Linked DNA regions of Homo sapiens: all the other regions are linked to region 3. Evidence: promoter capture Hi-C in 16 types of primary human blood cells and fetal thymus (Javierre and others, 2016). All regions are on one chromosome and are shown on one strand. Each heading gives the region's core, a stretch centred on a gene start or on the middle of the fragment in contact. The rest is flanking DNA. Distances are from core to core; before and after follow the strand shown. Region 1 overlaps LSM14A (LSM14A mRNA processing body assembly factor). Region 2 overlaps LSM14A (LSM14A mRNA processing body assembly factor). Region 3 holds the start of UBA2 (ubiquitin like modifier activating enzyme 2).

Region 1 (3,863 bases), core at 316-2,815, 250 kb before region 3:
ACATCTTTGTAACCACCACCCAGGGCAAGACAGACATTGCCAGCATCCCAGAAGCCTCCCACCACCTATATTTTCCCATCACAACTATCACCATCTTAATTTAAGCTAGATATAAATGTTCTTCTGACATTTATAGTTTTACCATATAAGTTTACATCTCTAAATAATAGAGTTTAATTTTGCCCATTTTTAACTTTATGTAAATAGGATTGTGTTGTATATATTTTATTTTTAGCTTTTATTGTTTCATAATATTCCATCATGAATATAACACAAGTTTATTCCTTCTGCCATTGTTTTGGATATTGCATTTAGATTGTTTGCAGTTTGGGGCTATTATAAACAATGCTTTTATGAACATTTCTGTTTAAGTGCACTGGTGCATGTTTATTTCGTTTTCTTGAGATTATATACTTAGAATTTGAATTGCAAGAACATGGGGAATGTTGGTCTTTATCAGGTAATGCCAGGTAGTTTTTCAAAGTAGTTGTTTAGTGGTTTTTACTTCATTTATTAGTATGTAAGAGTTCTTGTTTCATATCCCTTACCAACAACCGTACGTGGTATCATATATTTCAATTCTAGCCAATCCTGGTGGGTATGTAGTTGTATTTAGTTTTAATCATTTCCCTCATTACTAAATGGGGCTGACCAGCTTTTCATATCTGGGTGTTTGGATTTCATTTTTCATAAAATGCCTTTGAAATCTTTTCCTTTTTTAAATCGAAACACGTCTTTTTCTAGAGTTCTGTATTCTGAATATATCTCCATTGTTGGATGTATATATTGCAAACATTTTTTCCATTTAGTAGTTTCTTTAAATTAACAGAAGTTCTTCATTTTAATGTAAACATGTTCATCAGTTTTTTATGGCTAGTGTTTCTTTTTTTAAAACATCATAGAGATACTTTGATTATCTTTAAACCTTTTTGTGCTTTGCTTTTTCACATTGACGTTTATAATGCATCTGAAATTGATTTTGTGTACAATGTGAGATATTCAGAGCTTTATATTTAGTAAGGGATTCACTTGGTTTATATTGTCCATATTATAATTTAGGGCTTGGATATTATAATTTAAATATATCTGGAACTATAAACTACTCTTGAAATTTTTGGCTATTTACATTTGATGTGGTATATAATTAGGGTAACCATATGGCCTAGTTTGCCCTGGTGGAAAGTCCTTGTTTGTGCCTGCTCTGGCATAATTATTAAAAACATCCCGGCTGGGCAGGGTGACTCAGGCCTGTAATCCCAACATTTCCAAAAGGTCAAGGCCGGGGTATTGCTTGAGCCCAGGAGTTCAAAACCAGCCTCGGCAATACAGGGAGACTCCATTTCTACAAAAAATTTTAAAAAGTGCATTAGCCAAGCATGGTGGCATGCATGTCTGTCGTCCCAGCCACTTGGGAGGCTGAGGCAGGGGGATTGCTTGAGCCCAAGAGGAGCTGTGATCATGCCACTGCACTCCAGCCTGAAACATAGAACAAGACCTTGTCTTAAAAAATAACAATGATAGCCTGTAATCCCAGCACTTCAGGAAGCTGAGGCAGGCGAATCACCTGAAGTCAGAAGCTCGAGACCAGTCTGGCCAACATGGCGAAACCCCGTCTCTACTAAAAATACAAAAATTATCTGGGCGTGCTGGTGCATGTCTGTAATCCCAGCTACTTGAGAGGCTGAGGCAGGAGAATTGCTTGAACCTGAAAGGCGGAGGTTAGAGTGAGCCAAGATCACACCACTGTACTCTAGCCTGGGCAACAGAGCGAGACTCTGTCTCAAAAAAAAAAAAAACACAAAATAATAATAATAATCTGTTTTCTCTTTTGAAAATGTTTCAGTGTGGATAAGTTATCACACCACATAATCAAAAGCCTAATTGCAGAGGTGCTGTGAAATGGTCGATGTGCCTTATTTTCTGCTAGAGATGTCACAGACTAGCTTTAGTTCTAGAAAGTGAAACAGGTAAGTTTGAGGGGCTTTGATCCTCGGAACCTAAGCATATGTCAAGAAGTCATAAAGGCAACCTAGAAAGGCTTTGATGTCAATCTGCTATGTATGTTTATAGATGATCTGTGTTGCAGTTTGTTTCTGCAGTTTGTTGCAGTTTGTAGTCTGTGTCACAGCTCTGAATTTATTTTCTTCTCAGCACTGATCATGACTTACACTTAATCTTCTTTGCTTATTTGCATATGTGTTTATTGTCTGTCTTCACCTTCCCCTTCACCTCCAGACTCTGAGCTCCTGGTATGAAAGGTTGTTTAGTTAGTGAGTAAATGGAAATGATTTAGCATTTTAGCTTATTGTTCTTGTAGAAGTATCTTGGGTATACCTCCAAATAATGCTTTTCCATGTTCACAATTGCATTTCCCTATAAAATTAAATTATCCTGCCTCACATTAAGAAATCTTGAAGAATTTCAGTGAGTAGGGATGCAAGAGGATGAAATCTAGTGACATAATTAACATTATTGGGGAGGTAAACTCTTTGTGACTCAAGCTCAATTATAATTTTCATTTAAAGTTTAAAGGAAGCCTCCATTCAGGGTGTAGGAAGAAATTACACAGTGGTGACATGTATGAATATTTTATGGAATAGTTCCAGTTGTGTTTGCACCTACGTCTATAAGTGAGTAGGATGCCTAAATAGGCTAAAATGAATGAAATTCTTATAAAAAATAAATTCTTACATTTAGTTAGCTTACCTGGATAATCATTCAAATGGAAACCAGGTTGCTACTGCACTGGGAAAAGAGACTTTATGAAGAACGATTATATAAGCCACTTGCCTTTAAAATAAGTTGTTCTTAAAATCAAGAGATTGGTGGAAGAATAGAAAAACAAGTAAATTGTTAACAGATTTCTTTAATCATCTGCTAAGTCTGGCTCATTGGCATAATTTATCTACTTCTTGATGTTAGTCACATAGTCATAAACTATTACCTTATTGGAGAGAGTGGAAGAGCTTTGTGTGATGGATAAAATACTTGCGGGGTGCTTTATTTGATTTCTTGCATTACTTGGGGATCTAAATCTAGCAATTCACAAAATTACTATCTAAAATGACAAAGATCTAGTGAAACTTCAAGCCACAGTTTCTTTTTGTTGCCCTATTTAGTGATGTTGCCAGTACTTGGAGCCTTGGAAACAGTTTATTATTGTTACATAGTCCGCAGAAATACTTGGTAATTCTGGGAGTCTGAAGTCAGGTGCCAGAAACTGTTCATTTTCTAGTAGGGGTAAGTAAGGTAAGCCATGATTTTCTAAGTCGGAAGTAAAGAAAACAGCATAAAACTGAAGAAAAAAAATAGTAGAAGGAAGGAAGTAGGAAGAAAAAAGAAATCTTATCTGTGCATGATACATAGCAGGAGTTTTGTATTTAACTCAGTGCCACAGTAATAATAGCAGTAACTACAGATAGTTTAACTTGAATTTAATTATTCCGTGCTAGAAGATGCTTGCTATAGAAACAATTTGTCTTTCTCTCATGATGCTATAAAATAATATATTAATTAGCTGTTTTAAAAACTAGATACCATTGAAGTAAATTTTGTTGTTGTTGTTTTGAGACAAGAGTCTCACTCTGTTGCCCAGGCTGGAGTGCAGTGGCACGATCACAGCCTTGACCTCCCTGGGCTCAGGTAATCCTCCTGCCTCAGCCTCCCAAGTAGCTGGGACCACAGGCACACACCACCACACCCAGCTAATTTTCTGTTTTTTGTAGATACAGGGTTTTGCCATGCTGCCCAGGTCGGTCTCTAACTCCTGGGCTCAAGTGATCTGCCTGCCTTGGCCTCCCAAAGTGCTGGGATTACAGGTGTGAGCCACAGTGTCTGGCTTGAAGTAAGTTTTTTAGTGGACA
Region 2 (3,872 bases), core at 191-2,690, 210 kb before region 3:
GAATGTCCTTTGTATATATTCTTTATTATCATAGCTCCAGGTGCTCCTTCAGCTCCAAGGAGAGGGCGTGGGGGTCATCGGGGTGGCAGGGGAAGATTTGGTATTCGGCGAGATGGGCCAATGAAATTTGAGAAAGACTTTGACTTTGAAAGTGCAAATGCACAATTCAACAAGGAAGAGATTGACAGAGAGTTTCATAATAAACTTAAATTAAAAGGTAAGCTTTGATTTTTCTTTTCAGAAAATAATCTTATTTGATCTGTGAATTACAGATGTTTCTCAGATTAGGTGTTTTTATGTAATTCAGATTAGCTGTCTTGACTTTTCTGATATGTGCTTTTGTTCTTAGAAGATAAACTTGAGAAACAGGAGAAGCCTGTAAATGGTGAAGATAAAGGAGACTCAGGAGTTGATACCCAAAACAGTGAAGGAAATGCCGATGAAGAAGATCCACTTGGACCTAATTGCTATTATGACAAAACTAAATCCTTCTTTGATAATATTTCTTGTGATGACAATAGGTACAGTTTTTAAGCTGTTCTTTTATCTTATGATATTGATTGAAGTGTAAAATGGTTTCATGTAAATTCACGAGGTTTAATGAATACTACCATAATTGTTTTGTTTTGTTTTGAGACAGTCTTACTCTGTTACTCAGGCTGGAGAGCAGCAGTGCAGTCACAGCTCACTGTAGTCTCAAGCTCCTGACCTCAAGCAATCCTCCCATCTCAGCCTCAGTAAAGGGGACTACAGTTGTACACCACCCCACCCGGCTAATTTTTTTCATTTTTTTGTAGAGATGGGGGTCTCGCTATGTTGCCCAGGCTAATCGTGAACTCCTGGCCTCAAGATCAGCCTCCCAAAGTACTAGGATTACAGGCGTGAGCCACCACACCTGGCCATAATTGATTTTTTAATGTTTTATTTGCTAAAAGAAAATATATACTAAAGTTCTAAATTATTCATTCAAAAGAAGAAATAACCATATACTTTTGTTTAAGGATATATTCATATTTGAATATTAGCAATTAAAACAAGCATTTAGGTAATGTCTAAGTAGGACCTTTTTTTCACCCCTGTATGTTACAGTTCAAATGAAGCCAGAACCGAAGTGCTAATCTACTTTGAAGTTTGCTGGTACCATAAAACTGCCAGATTGTAGTAAATGTGGGTCCAGAAAATTGGCAAATTATTGAGAGGTTAATTAAAGGACCCAGTGTGAGGAACTAACAGTTCTAGAGGTTCTCCTGCCCAATCCAAATTGTCATTGTCCTTGTCCTTTTCCTGGCTGAAGTTTGGTGCCCTCTGGTGGCAGTTGTTTGCTTCAATATAAACATGGATGGACATAATTCTGAGTCCCACGATTGGCTGGATGACAGCAGCAATAATTCAGATACTTCTTGGGTTACTTGGTATCGGGTCCATAGATTGGGCCAGGAACATAATGGGGACCTAAGGGCCCACCTTCCATCTCCTAGCTTCCCAAGACAAGGCCTCCCTGTCTGACTTTACCTTCTTTTCCCTTGGGGCTGAGTGGAAAGCGAAGTCAATTACCAATCTCATTATATCTGAATTTCCATTATTTTGGAGCTGTTACTATGTTTATCAGGTGTATTTGCAAGAAACTAATGTCAGTCATGTGTTCACATGAAGTTTAACAGAATATTACAGGAACATATTGAACTCATATGCCATGAACAACTCGTGATAACTTAGATAAGATGCTTTTTTTTTTTTTTTTTTGAGATGGAGTTTCGCTCTTGTCACCCAGACTGTAGTGCAGTGGCTCGATCTCGACTCACTGCAACCTCCACCTCCCAGGTTCAGGTGATTCTCCTGCCTCAACCCCCCAAGTAGCTGGGATTACAGGCACCTGCCACCATGCCCAGCTATTTTTTGTATTTTTGGTAGAGAATGAGTTTCACCATTTTGGCCAGGCTAGTCTCGAACTCCTGACTTCAGGCGATCCGCCCCCTCGGCCTCCCAAAGTGCTGGGATTACAGGCGTGAGCCATCACGCCTAGCCAAGATGCTTATTTCTAATTAGCTTTAGTAATTACTTAGGCTTAATTTGGGAGTAGCACTGCATATTTTGGCTGAGGGATATTCTTTTAAACCTGATATGCTGAAGATTATTTGCTTTTATAATAGAGAACGGAGACCAACCTGGGCTGAAGAAAGAAGATTAAATGCTGAAACATTTGGAATCCCACTTCGTCCAAACCGTGGCCGTGGGGGATACAGAGGCAGAGGAGGTCTTGGTTTCCGTGGTGGCAGAGGGCGTGGTGGTGGCAGAGGTGGTACCTTCACTGCCCCTCGAGGATTTCGCGGTGGATTCAGAGGAGGTCGTGGGGGCCGGGAGTTTGCGGATTTTGAATATAGGGTAAGTGTTACTGTTAATAAATTCTTTGGGGTTGACATGCATTTTACAAGACTCAAAACATTTTTACTTGTTTTTGTTTTGGGTGAATTGTTTTGAGGACATTAGAATAACTTCCATTTTGACTTTTCAGTAGAGGATATACGTGATTCAGATGTATATATAAAGACATTATACAAAAAAAGACAGTATAGTATCACCTTTATTTCATGTTAACAGAATATACTTTTAACACCCAAAGAGTCTATCTAGGAAGCACATACTCCCAGAATGGAAGGGCAAGCTTTAACATTTAATAGCAGTTAACATTTATATAGTATTTACCAAGTAACAAGACATTGTTTTAAATATTTTTTTACATATTAACTTATTTAAACTGCACATCAACTCTGTGAGGTAGGTTCTATTATTATCCCCATTTTACAAGTGAGGAAATGGGTATAGAGATATTAAGTAACTTGCGAAAGGTCACATAGCTAGTAAGTGATGGTGCTGGGTGTTGAGCCCAGCAAGTTGTTTCCTGAGTCAGTACTCTTAATTTGGTTTTGTTGAAAATTCACTACATTTTCCCTGGTTTTCTCCTTTCACCATGAAATTGAAAATGTTTCGATATATTGGCCTTCAGGAGCTACTGCTAGAGAATTCTGTAACTCTGTATAGTAGCCTTATGTGTATAATGTAGCTTTTGACAGGTGTCTGTAAATTAAGTCAGCATAGTAACTATCTCAGTTAACAGTAAACTATCTTAGTTTATTGATTTTAGAAGTAGTGGAGAGGAAGGGCTATAACAGAAAGGACCAAAATCTTGTAAAGAGTTCCACTTGTAATAGCAACAGGCAGCTGGAAACAGAAAGACCTGTTAGCAGGAGTTCCATTGCCCAGTACTTAAAACTGGCCATTGTTGAGATCTCTCTGGAAAGAGATCAGTATTAGTGGCTTTTGGACCTGCTCTATTAATTTTAATGCTTTTGATATTGTGCCATCACAGCCAAGACTGCCAAAAATTATACTCAAGTCACCAGCTTATGCCATCCAGCCGTTGGTGGCCTTATGTAGTTGCGGGACTTCTGACTTGCAAAATCACCTTCCCAGCTAGGAGAATCTGTCTTAGGAACTCCAGAATAGCCCTCGCTTATCACTGTTACTGCCCTTAAGTTTGCCAGTGACACCTTGCTTACAGAATTCAGCAGTAGTATTTTCACAAATATTTTATTTGCCATTAACTCCTCTGCAATATTTGACACTGACCAACCACCCAATTTGGGGTCTTTCTTCCTAGTCTTTAAAATACTCTTCTAGGTTTTCAATTTATACTCTTCCTAATTTTTTAATACTCTTCATTCTTTTTTTTGGGGGGTGGAGGGTGTCAGGGTCTTGCTGTGTCACCCAGACTGGAGTGCAATGGCATGATCATAAGTCACTGCAGCCTCAACCTCCCAGGCTCAGGCAGTCCTCCCACCTCAGCCTCCTATGTAGCTGGGACTACAGGCATG
Region 3 (4,018 bases), core at 321-2,820:
GAGGCCTAGGTGATCATGGGGTGGGCTTGTTTCTTGCATTTAACATTATATTTGGAGCATTTTCCCATTAATATTTTTCCCACAACATAATTTATAATTGCTCTATTTTTTAAATATACATCAAAAGCTTTATACAATTTTTAGCCACTTGTATTTTCCAATTTTTATTCCCATGATGGCCATCCCTGTAACTAAATTTATATATATTTTAAATCAATGATAACTGCTACAGGACAGTTTCCTAGAATTGGAATGAATGAGTCAAAAGTTGTGCACAATTTTAGGGTTTTTTTTTCTTTTTTTTCGAGACAGGGTCTTGCTCTGTCTCTCAGGCTGGAGTGCAGTGGTAAGGGCATAGCTCACTGCAGCCTCGACCTCTCAGGCTTAAGTGATCCTCCTGCCTCAGCCTCCTGAGTAGCTGGGACTACAGGTGCAAGCCACCACGCCCTCTAGAGAAGCTTTGCTTTGGAATCTTTACCTGGAGTGTGTTGGAGTGCTTGTTTCCCAATCCCTTGATAAGTGTTACTTATTTTTTCTTTCTACCAGTTTAGTAGGTGAAAAACTTTTTTTTTTTTTTGAGACAGAGTCTCGCTGTATTGCTCAGGCTGGAGTGCAGTGGTGCAACCTCCGCCTCCTGGGTTCAAGCAATTCTCCTGCCTCAGCCTCCTGAGTAGCTGGGGCTACAGGCTTGTGCCACCACCCCCAGCTGTTTCGGTGTTTTTTTTTGTTTGTTTGTTTGTTTGTTTTTTTGAGACGGAGTCTGTTGCCCAGGCTGGAGTGCAGTGGCGCGATCTCGGCTCACTGCAACCTCTGCCTCCTGGGTTCAAACGATTCTCCTGCCTCAGCCTCCCGAGTAGCTGGGATTACAGGCGCACGCCACCACGCCCGGCTAATTTTTGTATTTTTAGTAGAGATGGGGGTTTCACCATGTTAGTCAGGCTGGTTTCAGAACTCCTGACCTCGTGATCCACCCGCCTCGGCCTCCCAAAGTGCTGGGATTACAGGCGTAAGCCACCGCGCCCGGCAGGTGAAAATCTTACCATTTTGCATGGTTTACATTTTTTTCTTTTTTGAGACGGAGTCTTGCTCTGTTACCCAGCCTGGAGTGAAGTGGTGCGATCTTGGTTCACTGCAACCTCCACCTCCAGGGTTCAAGCGATTCTTTTATGGTTTACATTTTAATACGCTTATTGATCATATTGTCCAATTTTTTGTGAGTTTCCTGTTCACATCCTTTGCCTATATTTTTTTGGGGGTGACACTTGTTAATTTGTAAGAGCTCTTTACGTATAGGGACATCAGTTTTCTAACCTGTAAGGAAGTCTTGGCTGGGAGTTGAAACCCCAGGCTAGAAGGCGACCCTTAGACTTTTTAGGTCTGATGGCGGGCCTATGCTGGTGTGGGAATAACACCGCCGGTCTCAGCTGGAGGTCGCCAGCCCTTTGCAAGAGCCTGCCGGTCCCCGCGGGCTGCAGCACACCCCGGCGCGATGTGCCCTGCCTGTGTCTGCCGGAGGCTGTAGTGCGCAGGAGCGGAAACCAGGCCGCCCTTCCCCCACCCGCTTCCGGCCGCGGCTCGGTTCTCCCGCCTCCGCCTCCGCCGCGGCTCGTGGTTGTCCCGCCATGGCACTGTCGCGGGGGCTGCCCCGGGAGCTGGCTGAGGCGGTGGCCGGGGGCCGGGTGCTGGTGGTGGGGGCGGGCGGCATCGGCTGCGAGCTCCTCAAGAATCTCGTGCTCACCGGTTTCTCCCACATCGACCTGGTGAGGGCCGGGCGCGCGCGCGTGAATGGCGGGCTGTGGTGCGGGGGCTGGGATTCGGGGGTTCCGGGGCTCCAGGGGCTCTGAGGCTCAGGGCCCGGAGCCCGGGACCGGAGTTGCGGAGCGGGGGCAGGCTGAGAGGCTCGGGTTGTGCCCCCCCCGCGGGAGGAGACTGTTCTTTGGGCACGGGGCGGGCCTCCGCTCGCTGGGCCGGCTCCGGACGCCGAGGAGGCCGCGGGCCCCCGCCTCCCCGGCAGCGCCAATGTGTGGCGCTTCGTGGGCGTGAAGCCGCCTCTTATCCTCCCTTCAAAACAAATTCCCGGCTGTTAGGAGATGCGGGAGAGGATTGAGTCCCTCGCGGATGTTGTGACTTTAATTTTGAGGTCCCTGTCGTAACTCCGAAGTAACGACGCGGGGCGGAGGATGGCAATGATAGCGACCAACGCGTCCCGAGCGCTGGTCACGAGCGGGTTTACACACGGAACGCGCACCATCTTCATACCACCCGAGGAGTGCAAACGCTATTTCCACCCTGCTTTATTTTTAACAGATGAGGAAAGGGAGACGCAATGGGGTTGAGTAACTTACCCTGGGTCACGGAGCGAGTGGCAGGGCTCCCGCAGGCTGCGTGACTGTCATTGCTCTCACAGTAGACGGTACACTCGCTTGTTTCATTAAAGACGTTAGGACTGTGCCTTTTGCATTGGTGTACGTTGACAAGCCAGTGCTATTTTGAATCGTTATTTCTACTAATGCAAACTTTTTAGAGATTGGAGATGTTACTGGCCCTTCGGTGTGAGTTTAAAGTGTCTTAAGGGCTAGTGGAAACATGGAATGAACAAAAAAGTACGGGTGGCCGACTGAGTCATTGTTTCTTTCCTTTATGTATTATATATTTAAGCAAAAATTAGATAAAACTTAAAACATGATACTTTTTTAACCATGTGTAAAAGTTTCCTTTCACAGTTCTCAGGTTAATAGTAAATGAAATTGTGTATGGATGAAGGCTTGAATTAAGGGAGGCAGCAAAAATTCAATAAACGTTTGCCATGTATCATTTAAGAAAAAGAACAGAACCTGGGCAACATAGAGAAACCCCGTCTCTACAAAAAAAGAAAATTAGCGGGGCGTGGTGGTGTGCGCCTGTGGTCCCAGCTACCCGGGAGGCTGTGTCAGGAGGATCGCTTGAGCCTGGGAGGTCGAGGCTGCAGTGAGCTGTGTTTGCACCACTGCACTCCAGCCTGGGCAACAGAGGGAGACCCTGTCTCAAAAAACAAAGAAAAAGAACAGGGCATAGTTAAATTTAATATTTTGTACTTGAAAGAGTAATTCGATTGAAAGAGAAATACTTTAGTATTTTTTGAGACAGGGTCTGGCCCTGTCACCCTGGCTAGAGTGCAGTGGCCCGATCTCGGCTCACTGCAACCTCCGCCTCCCAGGCTCCAGTGATCCTCCACCTCAGCCTCCCGAGTAGCTGTGACTACAGGCATGTGCCACCTAATTTTATTTTTTCTATTTCTTGTAGCCACCAGGGTCTCACTATTTTGCTTAGGCTGGTCTTGAAGGTCTGGGCTCAAGCGATTCTCTCACTTTGTCCTCCCAAAGTGTTGGGATTACAGGTATGAGCCACCACTCCCGGTGTAGAGAAATATGTTAATATATTTTCAGTTAGTGTTTACCTCGACAGCACATATAGTTTTAATGAATTCACATATTTTTATGGCATCCAGGGAGTTTCCTGAAATATTTTCCAGGATGATTAAACAAACAAAATATACCATTCTTTCAAAGTATTTTTGAGAAGTTTATCTCTGACATTAAATCTAGATTCTTACATGCATTAAATTATTCTTTATCAGTTTAACAATTTTGGTATGGCGATTCGAAAAACGCTTTCTCCACTAATGTAGCAGATATCAAAAGTTCTGGATTACAGGTGCTGAGAGTAGTGATACAGCTCAAACATACGTAAACGTTTGTCATTTATCTGGGGTTTATGCATTTGTAGATTGATCTGGATACTATTGATGTAAGCAACCTCAACAGACAGTTTTTGTTTCAAAAGAAACATGTTGGAAGATCAAAGGCACAGGTAACTATATTTCTCATACCATTTCTATAACTTGATGGAGCTTCTATTTGTGATACCAGATTAATCCTGCCTGTCATATAGGAGGGAAAAAATGGGTGAAGCTCTCATTTCAGCTGAGAGATTGTGAAGGATAAAGATATATCAAGTAAAGGACTAAAGATTAAGCCCT

What was found. Contacts are between HindIII fragments. The CHiCAGO score rates a contact against its expected background, and 5 or more counts as called.
Region 1: a contact is called between a fragment that was not itself captured here and the fragment with the promoter of UBA2 in region 3, in 2 of 17 cell types (fetal thymus and non-activated CD4 T cells). The highest score is 8.3, in fetal thymus.
Region 2: a contact is called between a fragment that was not itself captured here and the fragment with the promoter of UBA2 in region 3, in 5 of 17 cell types (naive CD4 T cells, naive CD8 T cells, non-activated CD4 T cells and 2 more). The highest score is 6.5, in naive CD4 T cells.

Annotation. Positions count from the first base shown.
Region 1 is chr19:34,176,379-34,180,241 of GRCh38, forward strand. The region is part of intron 1 of LSM14A (LSM14A mRNA processing body assembly factor); the gene reads left to right. Among named protein-coding and RNA genes, the nearest start is that of LSM14A, 5.8 kb to the left of the region's middle. The HindIII fragment of the contact is 8,937 bases long and covers 1-3,863 here.
Region 2 is chr19:34,219,357-34,223,228 of GRCh38, forward strand. It overlaps LSM14A (LSM14A mRNA processing body assembly factor), which reads left to right. Exons shown (of 10, transcript NM_015578.4): 7 at 35-217; 8 at 350-521; 9 at 2,151-2,382. Among named protein-coding and RNA genes, the nearest start is that of GARRE1, 33 kb to the right of the region's middle. The HindIII fragment of the contact is 2,440 bases long and covers 221-2,660 here.
Region 3 is chr19:34,426,811-34,430,828 of GRCh38, forward strand. UBA2 (ubiquitin like modifier activating enzyme 2) reads left to right here and starts at 1,571. Exons shown (of 17, transcript NM_005499.3): 1 at 1,571-1,760; 2 at 3,766-3,849. The coding sequence starts at 1,623. LOC124904695 (a long non-coding RNA gene) reads right to left here and starts at 1,554. Exons shown (of 2, transcript XR_007067232.1): 1 at 1,312-1,554. RefSeq lists silencers at 1,459-1,698, 1,729-1,838, 1,909-2,068. The HindIII fragment of the contact is 4,339 bases long and covers 457-4,018 here.